Regions from separate parts of the Homo sapiens genome. Here region 2 is linked to region 1. Evidence: promoter capture Hi-C in 16 types of primary human blood cells and fetal thymus (Javierre and others, 2016). All regions are on one chromosome and are shown on one strand. Each heading gives the region's core, a stretch centred on a gene start or on the middle of the fragment in contact. The rest is flanking DNA. Distances are from core to core; before and after follow the strand shown. Region 1 holds the start of CD320 (CD320 molecule). Region 2 holds the start of TIMM44 (translocase of inner mitochondrial membrane 44).

What was found. Contacts are between HindIII fragments. The CHiCAGO score rates a contact against its expected background, and 5 or more counts as called.
Region 2: a contact is called between a fragment that was not itself captured here and the fragment with the promoter of CD320 in region 1, in 1 of 17 cell types (erythroblasts). The highest score is 5.3, in erythroblasts.

Annotation. Positions count from the first base shown.
Region 1 is chr19:8,307,108-8,314,213 of GRCh38, reverse strand. It overlaps CD320 (CD320 molecule), which reads left to right and starts at 5,856. Exons shown (of 5, transcript NM_016579.4): 1 at 5,856-6,065. The coding sequence starts at 5,924. NDUFA7 (NADH:ubiquinone oxidoreductase subunit A7) reads left to right here. Exons shown (of 4, transcript NM_005001.5): 4 at 2,619-2,930. The coding sequence ends at 2,709. RefSeq lists enhancers at 1,671-2,273, 5,028-5,557, 5,613-6,352, 6,237-6,366, 6,353-7,093 and silencers at 5,754-6,092, 6,067-6,156. The HindIII fragment of the contact is 66,850 bases long and covers 1,474-7,106 here.
Region 2 is chr19:7,938,708-7,945,813 of GRCh38, reverse strand. TIMM44 (translocase of inner mitochondrial membrane 44) reads left to right here and starts at 2,148. Exons shown (of 13, transcript NM_006351.4): 1 at 2,148-2,207; 2 at 4,617-4,712. The coding sequence starts at 2,163. RefSeq lists enhancers at 954-1,496, 1,497-2,040, 2,045-2,414, 2,041-2,583, 2,584-3,127 and a silencer at 1,945-2,014. The HindIII fragment of the contact is 1,655 bases long and covers 2,327-3,981 here.

The sequences.
Region 1 (7,106 bases), core at 4,607-7,106:
AAGTAGCTGGGATTACAGGCGCATGCCACCATGCCAGGCTAATTTTGTATTTTTAGTAGAGATGGGGTTTCACCATGTTGGTCAGGCCGGTCTTGAACTCCTGACCTCATGTGATCCTCTGGCCTCGGCCTCCCAAAGTGCTGGAATTACAGGTGTGAGCCACCATGCCCAGCCATGTATTCTTCTCAGAGACAGAAGTGTATAAACCTTGGGCTCCTCTCAAAAAGCAGTTTGGTCCCTGGTTTCAGGTGTCTTCTCTTAATTAAATGGGGACTCTAATAGCATCTACTTCAGAAAGCTGTTACGAGGGTTAGTCCTCATAATTAATATTTGTAAACTCTTGGAGCCTGGCACAGAGTCAGTGTCCTGCCTACCTCCTAATAACTCCACCAGTTAGATGGTGATGACCCCTCTTGCAGAAGAGGAAATCGAGGCTCACAGAAGCCAAGTGACTGGCCTGGGCCACACAGGCAGCAGTAAGCAGAAGCAGGATTTCAAACCAGTTTTCCTGGACTCCTGTTGGGGTCTGGGCTCTACAGCCAACTCACGGTGTGGGCAGTCCCTCAGCCTTCTTGAGCCTTGGTTTCTTCACATATAAAATAGGGATGCTAGACTTGCAGTGTGCTGAGATCTGGGAGGTGATGAGGTCAGGCAGGGCCTGCTCTGTACTTAAAACTCTGTGAGGTCTGGGCGCGGTGGCTCACGCCTGTAATCCCAGCACTTTGGGAGGCCGGGGAGGGCGGATCACCAGGTCAGGAGATCGAGACCATCGTGGCTAACATGTTGAAACCCTGTCTGTACTAAAAATACAAAAAATTAGCCAGGTGTGGTGGTGGGCGCCTGTAGTCCCAGCTATTCGGGAGGCTGAGGCAGGAGAGTGGTGTGAACCCGGGAGGCGGAGCTTGCAGCTCACTGAGATCGCGCCACTGCACTCCAGCCTGGGTGACAGAGTGAGACTCTGTCTCAAAAAAAAAAAAAAGAACTCTGTGAATAGGCCAGGCGCAGTGGTGTGTGCCTGTAATCCCAGTGACTCGGGAAGCTGAGGTGTGAGGATTGCTTGAGTTCTAGACTTGTTTGAGTAACACAGCGAGACCCCGTCTCTATTAGAAATTTTTTAGGCTGGGCATGGTAGCTCACGCCTGTAATCCCAGCACTTTGGGAGGCCGAGGTGAGAGGATCACTAGGGGTCAGGAGATCGACACCAGCCTGGCCAACAGGGCGAAACCCTGCCTCTACTGAAATACAAAAGTTAGGGGCGCTGTGGCTCTCGCCTGTAATCTCAGCACTTTGGGAGGCCGAGGCGGGTGGATCGCTTGAGCCCAGAAGTTCAAGACCAGCCTGAGCAGCATGGGGAAACCCCATCTCTACAAAAAATACAAAAATTAGCCGGGTGTGGTGGTGTGCACCCGTAGGCCCAGCTACTTGAAGGGCTGAGGCAGAAGGATCTCTTGAACCTGGGAGGTCGAGGAAGCTTCACTGAGCTGAGATTGCGCCACTGCACTCCAGCCTGGGTGACAAAGTGAGACCCTGTCTCATAAATAATAAACAAGAAAGAAAATACAAAAATTAGCCGGGAGTGATGGTGCACACCTGTAATCCCAGTTACTTGGGAGGCTGAGGCAAGAGAATCACTCAAGCCTGGGAGGCGGACGTTGCAGTGAACTGAGATTGTGCCACTGCACACCAGCCTGGGTGACAGAGCAAGAGTCTGTCTCAAAAAGAAGGAACTCAGTGGAGTGGTCCTTGTTGTCACCTTCTGATTCACTGGAGTCCAGCACCAGAGTGTGGCAAGATACCTTGTTCCCACACAGCCCCTTGCCATGCCCCCAGAGATGTGTGCATTTCCCAGGGAGGCCACTTCTGCCTTTTCCATTTCCTTGAGGCTCCTGGGAGGTCCTGTGCCTCCACCCCTGGGGCGCCTCCTCCATCACCCCACCCTCCTGCTTCCTTTCTTGCTTAGGCTGTGAAGTGTGTGAGCTCCACAGGCTCAGGTGGGTGGGGTGAGAGGGGAGGGTGCTCGTCCTGGACTTGCCGGCACAGGGTCTCCTGGGGGCTCCCTCTTGGCCAGCTCTGGGCCAGAGATGCGTTTTGCAGTTGCCATTTGCGCATGGATTCTCAGCCCCACCAGCCTGAGTCTTCCTGAGGGCGGTGCCCCATCTTCCTGGCTCTGCGCCCACACAGTAGCGCCTGCCATGCAGTTCTTGCCCAGTCTGAGGCAGGAATAGCTGGAGGCCATTGTCACCTGATCGCTTGGCCCTTTTGCCAGCATCCTGTTTTGAGGGGCAGCAGGAATGGGGGTGGGGGCCTTGTGTACGCTGGAGACCAAAAGTGGGAAGGGAGGAGCCCAGCTCTCCACAGTGGGTTCTGGGCCTGGGGGCCACAGCAGGGGGTTCATACAGGGCTCAGGGGAGAGAGGAGGCTTGCTAGCTCCCACCTGGCGTTGGCTGATCCTCTGAGGGGCTGCGTTGGAGGGGTTGGCATTCTGGAACACCCTGCTGTCTGTCCTGCAGGTCCAGAAAGTCCCTGTGGGTGTGTTTGTCCCGGGGCAGGTGTGGGCTCCCTCAGATCTTTCCACACTGTTCTTTGGAAACCCTCACTGAAGTCTTTCCCTCCTCCAGCTCTGCTGTAGCTGCCACTGAGAAGAAGGCGGTGACTCCAGCTCCTCCCATAAAGAGGTGGGAGCTGTCCTCGGACCAGCCTTACCTGTGACACTGCACCCTCACGGCCACCCGACTACTTTGCCTCCTTGGATTTCCTCCAGGGAGAATGTGACCTAATTTATGACAAATACGTAGAGCTCAGGTATCACTTCTAGTTTTACTTTAAAAAATAAAAAAATAGAGACAGAGTCTCACCATGTTTCCCAGGCTGATCTTGAACTCCTGGCCTCAAGCGATCCTCCTGCCTTGACCTCCCAAAGTGCTGGGATTACAGGCATGAGCCACCACACCTGGCCTGATTTTATTTTTATTTTTTAGACCTTCCCACTGAGGCCTCTGCTTGACCTTGGTCACCCTGTAGCTCAACGGGGAAGGCAAAGGACAGTGAGGGCTGCTTACAGGGAAGGCAGACCTAGGGCAGATCAGGAAAGGCCTCCCTGAGCCAGAAACCATTATGCTGGGGCTGTGGGATGAGAATGAGTTAGCTCCAGAAGGAAGGCAGCTGGTTCCTGGGGAGGAGATAGAAATCTGGCTGCAGGAGCCAGAGTTTTCGCGCTTGTCACCCAGGCTGGAACGCAACGGCACGATCTCAGGTCACTGCAACCTCTGCCTCCTGGGCTCAAGCAATTCTGCCTCAGCCTCCCGAGTAGCTGGGACTACGGGTGTGCACCACCATACCCGCTAATTTTTTTTTTTTTTTGTAGAGATGGCCAGGCTGGTCTCAAATTCCTGACCTCAGGTGATCCGCCCGCCTTGGCCTCCCAAAGTGTTGGGATTACAGGTGTGAGCCACCACGCCTGGCCCCTGATTTTAAGCAATACCCAGCTTACTTGGATTTTGGGGTGAAGTCAGTGCTGAGTCTCCCAACTCTGTTGGCACTCCAGGGGTGGGACAGACACTGTCCCTGGGTGCAGAGGCCCTGGAGACAGCACTGCCCTTTCCCCCAAAGGCCAGGCTCTGACCTTGAGAGTGGTGGGAGTGGGTGATCCTTCTGGGAGGTTGGACTCCCAGGACCGCTGGCTGTTGGGGAGCATTGATTGTGAAGACCAGTCAGGTGGGGTAAGGGGTGTATGTGCGGACACTCAGTAGGCCAGCCACAGACTTCTCACTTCTTTTTTTTTTTTGAGACAGAGTTTCGCTCTTGTTGCCCAGGCTAGAGTACAATGGCGCGATCACGGCTCACTATAACCTCTGCCTCCTGGGTTCAAGTGATTCTCTTGCCTCAGCCTCCCGAGTAGCTGGGATTACAGGCGCCTGCCACAAGCCCAGCTAATTTTTGTATTTTTAGTAGAGACGGGGTTTCGCCATGTTGGCCAGGCTGGTCTCAAACTCCTGACCTCAAGTGATCCGCCCACCTCTGCCTCCCGAAGTGTTGGGATTACAGGCGTGAGCCACCGCGCCTGGCCTAACTTCCATCTCTTGAGGGCTCCCACAGCCACTTCTCACATGAACCTTCCTCAGCACCTTCCCACTGAGGCTCCTGCTTGACCATGGTCACCCTGCAGCTCAACGGGGAAGGCAGAGGACAGTAAGGGCTGCTCACAGGGAAGGCAAACCTAGGGCAGATCAGGAAAGGCCTCCCTGAGCCAGATCCCATTATGCTGGGGCTGTGGGATAAGAATGAATTCGCCCCAGAAGGAAGGCAGCTGGTTCCTGGGGAGGAGACAGAAATCTGCAAAGGGAGGGTGTCCAAGTCTGGCTGCAGGAGCCACCCAGTGACCCTACGCAGGGGAGTGTCATGGCTTCCCCAGGGCACAGCCCCAGACCCTTCAGCAGCTAAAAAAGATCAGCTGTGGACCAAGAGGGTGCTGAGACCGCCCTGCCCTCTGGAAGGGGAAAGGCCACGGCTACAGGCAGCAGGTACCAGTGTCCCAGAGTGGGTCCTACAAAGGCTAACACCTTCCTGGAGAAGGTGGGATTCTGCTTGGGGCAAAAGGATGAATCAGATTCAGAAAGGTCAGGAGGGAAGGAAAGACTAGGCAGGGTGTGCAGAGGCCACAAGGAGGGCAAGACCCTAGGCAAGGCATGCCGCTGACGGCATCTGAACCAAGTTTTATGACCACAACTTTTTTTTTTTTTTGAGACAGAGTCTCACTCTGTCACCCAGGCTGGAGTTCAATGATGTGGTCTCGGCGCACTGCAACCTCCGCCTCCCGGGTTCAAGCGATTCTCCCATCTCAGCCTCCCTAGTAGCTGGGACTACAGGAGCATGTTACCACACCCGGCTAATTTTTGTATTTTTGGTAGAGACGGGAGTTTTACTATGTTGGCCAGGCTGGTTTAGAACTCCTGACCTCGTGATCCGCCTGCCTCGGCCTCCCAAAGTGCTGGGGTTAACAGGCGTGAGCCAGCGCGCCGGCCAACTTTTCTAACAAATGGGGTCTCACTGTCACCCACGCTGGAGTGCAGCCCCAAGTGATTCTCCCACCTCAGCCTCCTGAGTAGCTGGGACTACAAATTAGAGCCACCATGCCCAGCTAATTTTCTTTTTTCTTGAGGCGGGCGGGGACTTGCTGTGTTGCCCAGGCTGATCTCGAACTCCTGGGCTCAAGCGATCTGCCCGCCTCTGCTTCCCAAAATGCTGGGATCACACACGTGACCCACCGCGCCCGGCCTTTATTATTAAATTTAATTAATTAATTGATTTCCTTTCCTTTTTCCCCCCCAAGCAACCCGACTCCGAGAATGGACGTTTCATTTATTCATTTACTCACCAAATGTTTACTAAGAGCCTACTATGAGTCAAGCACTATGTGTCAGATCCTGAGAATAAAGCAGTGAGCAACAGAAGATCCCTGCCCTCCAGTAGCTAGCATTCTATGGGGACTCGGACAACAAACCAGAATAAGTAAATAAAATAAATTACCTGTCGGCGCCACAAAAGCAGTGGGATGAGGGAGGAAATGCGGAGTGCCTGAGGGGCGTGGCTGCCATATTAAAGAAGATCACGAGGCAGTAACATTTGCAGCAGTCCTCATTTGGAACGGGAAATAATGCAAATGAACACCAACAAATTCCTTCCCATCCCCAGAAGTTTCTAACTTCAAGCGGGCTCCATACCTTTCAACTGATCTGGTCACTGGGGAAAGTGGGGACGGGCCTCTAATTCTCTTTTCCCTGCTATTCTGACATTTACGGTACGCGTAGCCGCGGGCGCCGCAGAACTCAGGGGCTTGGGCCCCGCCCCAACCCCGCGCGTGCGCGTGCGCAGGGATAAGAGAGCGGTCTGGACAGCGCGTGGCCGGCGCCGCTGTGGGGACAGCATGAGCGGCGGTTGGATGGCGCAGGTTGGAGCGTGGCGAACAGGGGCTCTGGGCCTGGCGCTGCTGCTGCTGCTCGGCCTCGGACTAGGCCTGGAGGCCGCCGCGAGCCCGCTTTCCACCCCGACCTCTGCCCAGGCCGCAGGTGAGTGACGCCCCGCAGCGCGGGCTCCCACCCCTCGCGAGGCTTCGCCCCGCCGCCGCGCACCGACAACGCCTAGTCACTGGCTGCACCGCACGTCAGTTCATGACACTCCCCCAGCACGTGGACTTGGACTTCATCGCTTGTGGGAAGGCGCGCACTGGTGCTAGGAAGACCCCATGCTGGGGGAGGGGAGGAGGGTGTCTCCACCTGCCTTTAACGGTTTTGCTCCGGCCCTGCACACCGTCTCCACACCTGCTGTGCCCTGTCGTCCCCCATTGTCACCTCCAAGCCGCCCTTCATACCAGCGTGGTCAGGAAAGCTCTTAGCAGGCTCAGATTGTCCGACCGCTAATCACGCAGGACGGGTCACCTGGTGCCTCTCGCACCTTTGCCTTCCAAACCCTCGCGCCCAGGCCTTGTGACCGTTCCGCAACCGTCCCTGCCCTCCCAGTCTCTCCTCCTTTGTCCTCCATCCTTAGAGAACGCGAGGTCTCTCCCCCCCATGCTACTGCAGGCTCTCGCAGAGACTGGGGTCACAAGTTGAATATACCCCCGTGGACGTGTTCGCCCTGGCCTAAGAGGTATTGGTGGCCAGTGGGGACGGGCTCCCTCTCTGATACCCCTAGAGGCAGCTGGAGGGTTGGAGTGGCCTCCCTGTGCACTCAGGCACTCCCAACTTGCAGCCCTGGGCTCAGGCTCACACACTTTCCCAGCTCCTTTGTGCATTCCGCACTTCTAGGTCCCTGGACTCATCCCAAAGTCCCTGACATTCACGTTAAATGTTCCTGGGTTTTTTTTTGTTTGTTTTTTTTTAAGGAGGCAGCGTTCACGTTAACCAAGTACAAAAGTTTTTGTTTTTTTTTTTTTGAGTCTCCCTCTGTCGCCCTGGCTGGAGTGCAGTGCAATGTTGGCTCACTGCACCCTCCGCCTCCCGGGTTTAAGCAATTCTCATGCCTCAGCCTCCCGAGTAGCTTGGGACTACAGGCACCGTCACCATGCCCGGCTAATTTTTGTATTTTTAGTAGAGATGGGGTTTCACCAT
Region 2 (7,106 bases), core at 1,905-4,404, 370 kb after region 1:
GGTGGCAGGCACATGTAGTCCCAGCTACTCGGGAGGCTAAGGCAGGAGAATGGTGTGAACCTGGGAGGCGGAGCTTGCAGTGAGCCAAGATCGTGCCACTGCACTCCAGCCTGGGCGACAGAGTGAGACTCTGTCTCAAAACAACAAAAAAAGAGATGGAGGTCTCATGCTGTCACCCAGGGTGGAGTGCAGTGGGTGATCATAGCTCACTGCAGCCTCTAACTAATGGGCTCAAGAGATCCTCCCACCTCAGCCTCCTAAGTAGCTGGAATTCCAGGCGAGAGACACCATGCTTGGCTTATTTTTTTATTTTTGTAGAGATAGGGTCTCGTTATGTTGCCCAGACTGGTCTGTAACTCCTGGGCTCAAATGATGCTCCTGCCTCAGGCTCCTGAGTTGCTGGGATAATAGGACTGAGCCACGGATCCTGGCTTAAAGGAGTCTTCTATCTCCACTTTATCTTTGGGTCTTTGACATGCTTATATGACACACTGCCTCTGAGTGTCCAATGCTGTAGTTTTCTTTCTTTCCTTTCTCTCTCTCTCTTTCTTTCTTCTTCTTTTTTTTTGACACAAGGTCTCTCTCTGTTGCCCAGGTAGTGTAGTGTAGTGTAGTGTAGTGTAGTGGCACGATCACGGCTCACTACAGCCTTAACTTCCCGGGCCTCAACGATCCTCCCATCTCAGCCTCCTGAGTAGCTGGGACTACAAGCACATGCTACCACGCCAAGCTAATGTTTTGTATTTGTTGTAAAGAAGAGGTCTTCACTATGTTGCCCAGGCTGGTCTCAAACTCTTGGGCTGGAGAGATCCTCCCGCCTCAGTGTCCCAAAGTGCTGGGATTATAGGCATGAGCCACCGCGCCCGGCCAAACTCCGTACTTTCAACCACAACTAAGAATCCATATTTCTAGCCCAGACCTTATTCTTAGCAACACACCTGTGTACACCAACCGCTTAACTAGTTTGCTCCTCTTGGCATCAAGACATCTCGAACAAAGCCAGAGTGGAAGCCCTCATCTCTTACCCCCACCTTGAGGGGGAGCTCCTGAGATGGAGAACACAAGTCTATCCATCGCAGAAGCCAGGAATGCATGCTCTCCGGGGCCAAGCTGCCTCCCTTTGAAATAATGAAGTCCCATAAACCCATATCACAGGTTAGTAATGCAAAAAGACCGGGTGCGGTAGCTCACGCCTGTAATCCCAGTGACTCAGAGGCTGAGGCAGGAGGATCGCTTGAGCTTGGGAATTGGAGGCTGCAGTGAGCTAGATTACGACACTGCACTCTAGCCTGGGTGACAGAGCAAGCCTCTGGCTCTATAAAAAAAAAAAAGGATCCAATAAGACAAACAGCAACAGCAACATACATTAGCTCTCCCAGGGGACCAACCCTCCTCCTCATACCCGGATTGCATGGCCATGTTAAAATACCGCCACCTGGTGGCGGCATTCTTCGAATGGAAAATAGCATCTGGGGTGCTGAAATGACAAAGGCCTGAGCGTCTTCAGATCAGAGTGTCAGTTCACACTGAATCGAAGTAGGACTGGACCACAGTCAGCCCGCTCTCAGCTTCCTCTTCTTATTCGGGGTCAAAACCAACAGGCGTCTTCCCAAAGCGCCGCACAAGAGTGGGCTCCTTCGCTTTCTCGGAGCGACTCACTTGCTGGTCTCTCAGCCATTGTCAATCAATCAGTCATTGCAGGGGCAGCCATAGACAATTACTCTGGAGCTGGTCCGCCGGTCAATCAGAATCCAATCGAATCCGTCCTTGTGGTCGGTGGATCCACGTGCCTGTACCACCTGCCACCAGCGCCCGGCGCGTTCTGTAGCCGAATCACCGCAAGTGACGGAATACACGCCCCTGGGCTCCGCCCCCTCGTAGTCGCGCCCAATCACAGATCTGACCCTCCCAGGAGTGCCCTCCCCCGGGCCACATCCAGTCACGGGCCCCGTCCTTCCAAAACACTGCCCTATCAGAGGTCAAGCTCTCTAGGCATTCCCTACCCTTTTAATGCCCCGCCCTATGACGGACCCAATCGGAGGGCTCTCCCTACCCGAAACCCCGCTCCTGGAGCGGCTTTTCTCAGGCTTGCGCGGCTCTAGGCCGAAGCGGCGGATGACGCAACCGGGCCGCGCCGCGAGAAGGTCACACGATTCTCCAACATGGCGGCGGCGGCCCTGCGGAGTGGCTGGTGCCGCTGTCCACGGGTGAGCGGCGGTGCGGCGCTGGCAGGGCGAGCTTAGGGGTCTTCTGGGCCTTCGGCCACCAAGGCTTTCTTCTCAGACCCTTGGCCTTCGCGACCCTTGCTTGGGCTCCTTAGAAAGCTTGGGGTTAGATCTTTGGGTAGCAGAGGCCAGGACAGGGGGCACAGAGCGTGGCCTGAGGGCGGGGACCGAGCTTACCGGGCAGGGGGCGGCGATGCGCGGGACCTGGGAGGGAGCTGATCACCCTTCGCCCTCTGATCAGACTCCACGTATACAGGAGAGAGAATGGTAGCCGGGGCGGCGGCGTCCCGTGGAAAAAAGTAGAGGGGAAGGCAAAAAAACGTGAAATTCACAGCTCGCGGTTAAATGCCAAGTTCTCTACCGAGAGCATTTCTTGTCTCGTTTCTTCTAACGTTCATTGTGGATGTGCGAGAGGTGGTTCGCGCCCTAGCAGGCTCTTGGGTCCACAGGGCAGTGGCAGTCAAGACGTGTAAGGCGCACTCAGAAAGTAGTACTTCATATTGCTCGTGCTCTTCGTTTTTTCTTTTTTCTCTTTTTTTTTTTTTTTTGAGACAGAGTTTCGCTCTTGTCGCCCAGTCTGGAGTGCAATGGCGCGATCTCGGCTCACTGCAACTTCTGCCTCCTTCTGCCTCCGGGTTCAAGCGATTCTCCTGCCTCAGCCTCAGGTGGATCACCTGAGGTCAGGAGTTCGAGATCCACTGGCCCACATGGTGAAATCCCATCTCTACTAAAACCCCATCTGTACTAAAAATACAAAAAAATTAGCCGGGCATGGTGGCGCGCTCCTGTAATCCCAACTACTTGGGAGGCTGAGGCAGGAGAATCACTTGAACCCGGCAGGCGGAGATTGCAGTGAGCCGAGATCCTGCCACTTTACTCCAGCCTGGGCAACAGAGGGAGACTCCGTCTCAAAAAAAAAAAAAAAAGTTATCCTCAAGTAAATACAGGAGATAGTAGGCACCTGTGTAAGTTTGGGATGTTGCATAGGGTTCTCAGAGGTAGGAGGCAGAGAACAGAGAGAAAAACGGCCCAGGAAATGTGGAAATGGTGGAGAAGTTGTACCTGGTCTTTTGACATCAACACGCCAGGTTCTGTGCTGGGTGACAGGGTGCCGAGCTGAACAGGACCTGCACAGAGCTTTTTTTTTTTCCCCCAATTTTTTATGGAGGCAGGGTCTAGCTATGTTGCCCAGGCTGGTCTCAAACTCCTGAGCTCAAACGATCCTTCCGCCTCAGCCTCCCAAAGTATCGGGATTACAGGCATGAGCCACCAGCTCAGTGCCTGCACAGAACTTAAGGCAAGATCTCGGCTCACTGCACCCTCCACCTCCCGGGTTTAAGCAATACTACAGGTGTGTGGGACTACAGGTGTGTGCCACCACGCCCGGCTAATTTTTGTATTTTTGGTAGAGACGGGATTTCACCATGTTGGCCAGGCTGATCTCGAACTCCTGACCGGGTGATCCTCCCACCTCAGCCTCCCAACGTGTTGGGATTACTGGCGTGAGCCACCGCGCCCAGCCAGCAAGTGCCTTTTACATGAGATCAGCCCAGTCTTTGCCCAGAGCGACTCCCCTAAATTACTCTGTTTATAGCTCAACCCTTGAGGAGGACATTGTAGGTTTATTCCAGAGTTGTCCCTGGGGCAACACATTATCGATGTTTGTGTCTGAAAAATCCAGTTCTCTCATCTTTGGAGGCTGGCAGAAATGGGGTGGGCTCGCAAGAGAAGACTGCTTGCCACTAGCATAGAAGCTTAGAGTGCCTACTTTCAGACTAAGGGATTAAATTGTACATTTAGCCTTCTTCCCCCCATGGGTTGGCATTTCCTGGGACCTGTCCGTTTTCCCCCAGTTTCAGGGGCACGAGGATAGATGTAGGCCCTGGAGGTACAGACACAGCATTTTCTCTTTCCACCAGCTTCTGCTTGCTTCTCAGACTTTGGGAAGATTACAGAGTGCCCGGCATGCATCAGGCATAAGATACAAATTGGCCAGTGAGGCCAGGTGCAGTGGCTCATGCCTGTAATCCCAGCACTTTGGAAAACCGGGGGAGGGGTGGATCACCTGAGGTCAGGAGTTCGAGACCAGCCTGGCCAACATGGCAAAACCGCTTCTCTCCTAAAAATACAAATATTAGCCGGATGTGATGGCGCATACCTGTAATTCCAGCTACTCGGGAGACTGAGGCAGGAGAATCGCTTGAACCCAGGAGGCATAGGTTGCAGGGAGCTGAGATCGCAGCACTGCACTCTAGCCTGAGACTCCGTCTCAAAAAAAAAAAAAAAATGGCCAGTGAGTTGCAGGTGACCCTGCTGTTTTGTGTGTGGTCTGCTTACTTCTCAGTCAACCTCTTGTTAGAATGGATCTTTCTCTTCTCTCCCCCCAATTAGAGATGCCTCGGCAGTGGAATCCAATTTCTTTCCAGCCACAACCTACCCCATGGGTCGACCTATCAGATGCGCCGGCCGGGCGGAGAGCTGCCACTGGTGAGTGACTCAGGATGCTCGGGCCAGCAGACACAGGGGAGGCCCGAAAATTCAGATCCCATTGGCAGGAGGGAGGGGTGGGGCTGTAGAGGTGGCTCGTACCATCTCGGTGGTGGGCCTTCTGTGTCCGGGGCTTTCAGAATGACAGATCCCAGTGTGCCTGGCCTTCTCGGTCCCAGAAACACTTGACCTGCCTCTTGCTTGATGTCGTAAGGGGATAAGGTGCTGTCAGAATAGCCCTTTATGTTGGCTCTAATGCTTGGAAGAGACCCCTGTATTGAACTGAATTCTACTTCCCTGTGACCTCTGCCCGTGGGTACCTCACCAAGCATAGCTGTTTCCTTTTCTAGAAGATAGCCCTTTGATCATTGGTACAGAGTCACCTTGTCACAACCAGACCTCAGTTTCTCCTGGTCATTCCTCTTCAACTGTGCTTCTGTTGGTGTCTCAGCATCGTGAGGACAGAAGCCCAAAACCTGACTCCCTTCCCCAGACCTGTACATTCGGGCAGCGCGTACATTCTGTCTCCCTCTCTCTCTGCGCCCAGAGCCTCAGCTCAGCTGCCTCCTTGGAGGCAGCTACCTACCTCTCCAGTCCTGTCCTGGGGCCATCGTGGGTGTGGGACAGGACCTGTGACTCTTTCCCTTTCTTGTCTAGTCCCCCGCCACACACTCACTCCCATGGTTTGTAGCCCAAGAGTCTCTGGTAGGGCTGCGATAAGGTTGTGTGGTCCTGGATGATTTTACTTAGAACCTGGGTTTCCCCTGGAGAAAGGCTGGCCAGGGTGGCATCTGAATGGGACTGCAGCCTGCTGACAGGAGGCCTGGCCACCTGTCCTGGGGAGCAGCACTGGGCTTTTTTTTTTTTTTAAGATAGGGTCTCACTCTGTGGCCCAGGCTGGGGTGCAGTGGCACTATCACGGCTCACTGCAGCCTTGAACTCCTGGGCTTAAGCGATCCTCCCACCTCAGCCTTCTGAGTAGCTGGGACCACAGGTGTGTGACTCCACGGGGCCTGAGCACCAGGCTGGATGCAGCTTTCTCTTGTAGCTTGACAGGAGCCAGGGAGGGGGATCCCACCTGGAGCTGGTATACCCAACACAGCTGTGGAAAAGTTGACCACAGGCGGCCCCTTCCGCCTGATTGGATTATTGTATGATCATTCATTAAACTGTTTCTCTGTTGTTTTTTTGAAACAGAGTCTCACTCTGTCGCCCAGGCTGGAGTGCAGGGGCGAGATACCGCTCACTGCAACCTCCACCTCCCGAGTTCAAGCAGTTCTCCTGCCTCTGCCTCAGTAGCTGGGACTACAGGCAGGCGCCGCCACACCTGGCTAATTTTTGTATTTTTAGTAGAGACAAGGTTTCACCATGTTGGCCAGGCTTGTCTCGGACTCCTGGCCTCAAGTGATCCGCCCACCTCGGTCTCCCAAAGTGCTAGGATTACAGATATGAGCCACTGTGTCCAGCCTGCTTTTTTTTTTTTTTTTTTGAGATGGAGTCTCATTCCATCACCCAGGCTGGAGTGCAGTGGCACAATCTTGGCTCACTGCAACCTCCGGCTCCTGGGTTCAAGTGATTCTCCTGCCTCAGCCTCCTGAGTAGCTGGCATTACAGGCACCCACCACCACGCCCAGCTAATTTTTGTATTTTTAGTAGAGACGGGGGTTTCACTATGTTGGTCAGGCTGGTCTGGAACTCCTGACCTCAAGTGATCCACCCACCTTGGCCTCCCAAAGTGCTGAGATTACAGGCAGGAGCCACTGCGCCCGGCCTTGTTTTGCTTTCACAAGGCTTTATCTTTTGAGCAGTTTTAGGTTTACAGAAAAATCCAACAGAATGTCCAAAGAGTTGCCATGCCCCTCCTCTCCCATCTGGCACACAGTTTTCTATTCTTCACGTCCTGCATTAGTGTGGAGCATCTGTCACAATTGACAGGATGTTGATACATTATTATTAATAAATGCATGGTTTACCTTCCGGTTCCCTCTTGGTGGTGTACATTCTCTGTGATTACAGTATCATAAGAGTAGTTTCACTGCCCTAACATTTTTCTGTGTTCCCCCCTACTCATCTCACCCTCTTCCTACCAAACCCCTGGCAACCACTGATCTTTTACTGTCCCCTTAGTTTTGCCTTTTCCAGAACGGTCTATAGTTGGAATCAGACAGTATGTAGCCTTTTCAGATTGGCTTCTTTCACTTAGTGCAATATACATTTAAGGTTCCTCTGTGTCTTTTCACAGCTTGAGAGCATATTTCTTGCTTGTTTTTTAAATTATTTTATTTTATTTTATTTGAGATGGAGTCTCGCTCTGTCACCCAGACTGGAGTGCTGTGGCATAATCTTGGCTCACTGCAGCCTCTTCCTCCTGGGTTCAAGCAATTCTTGTGCCTC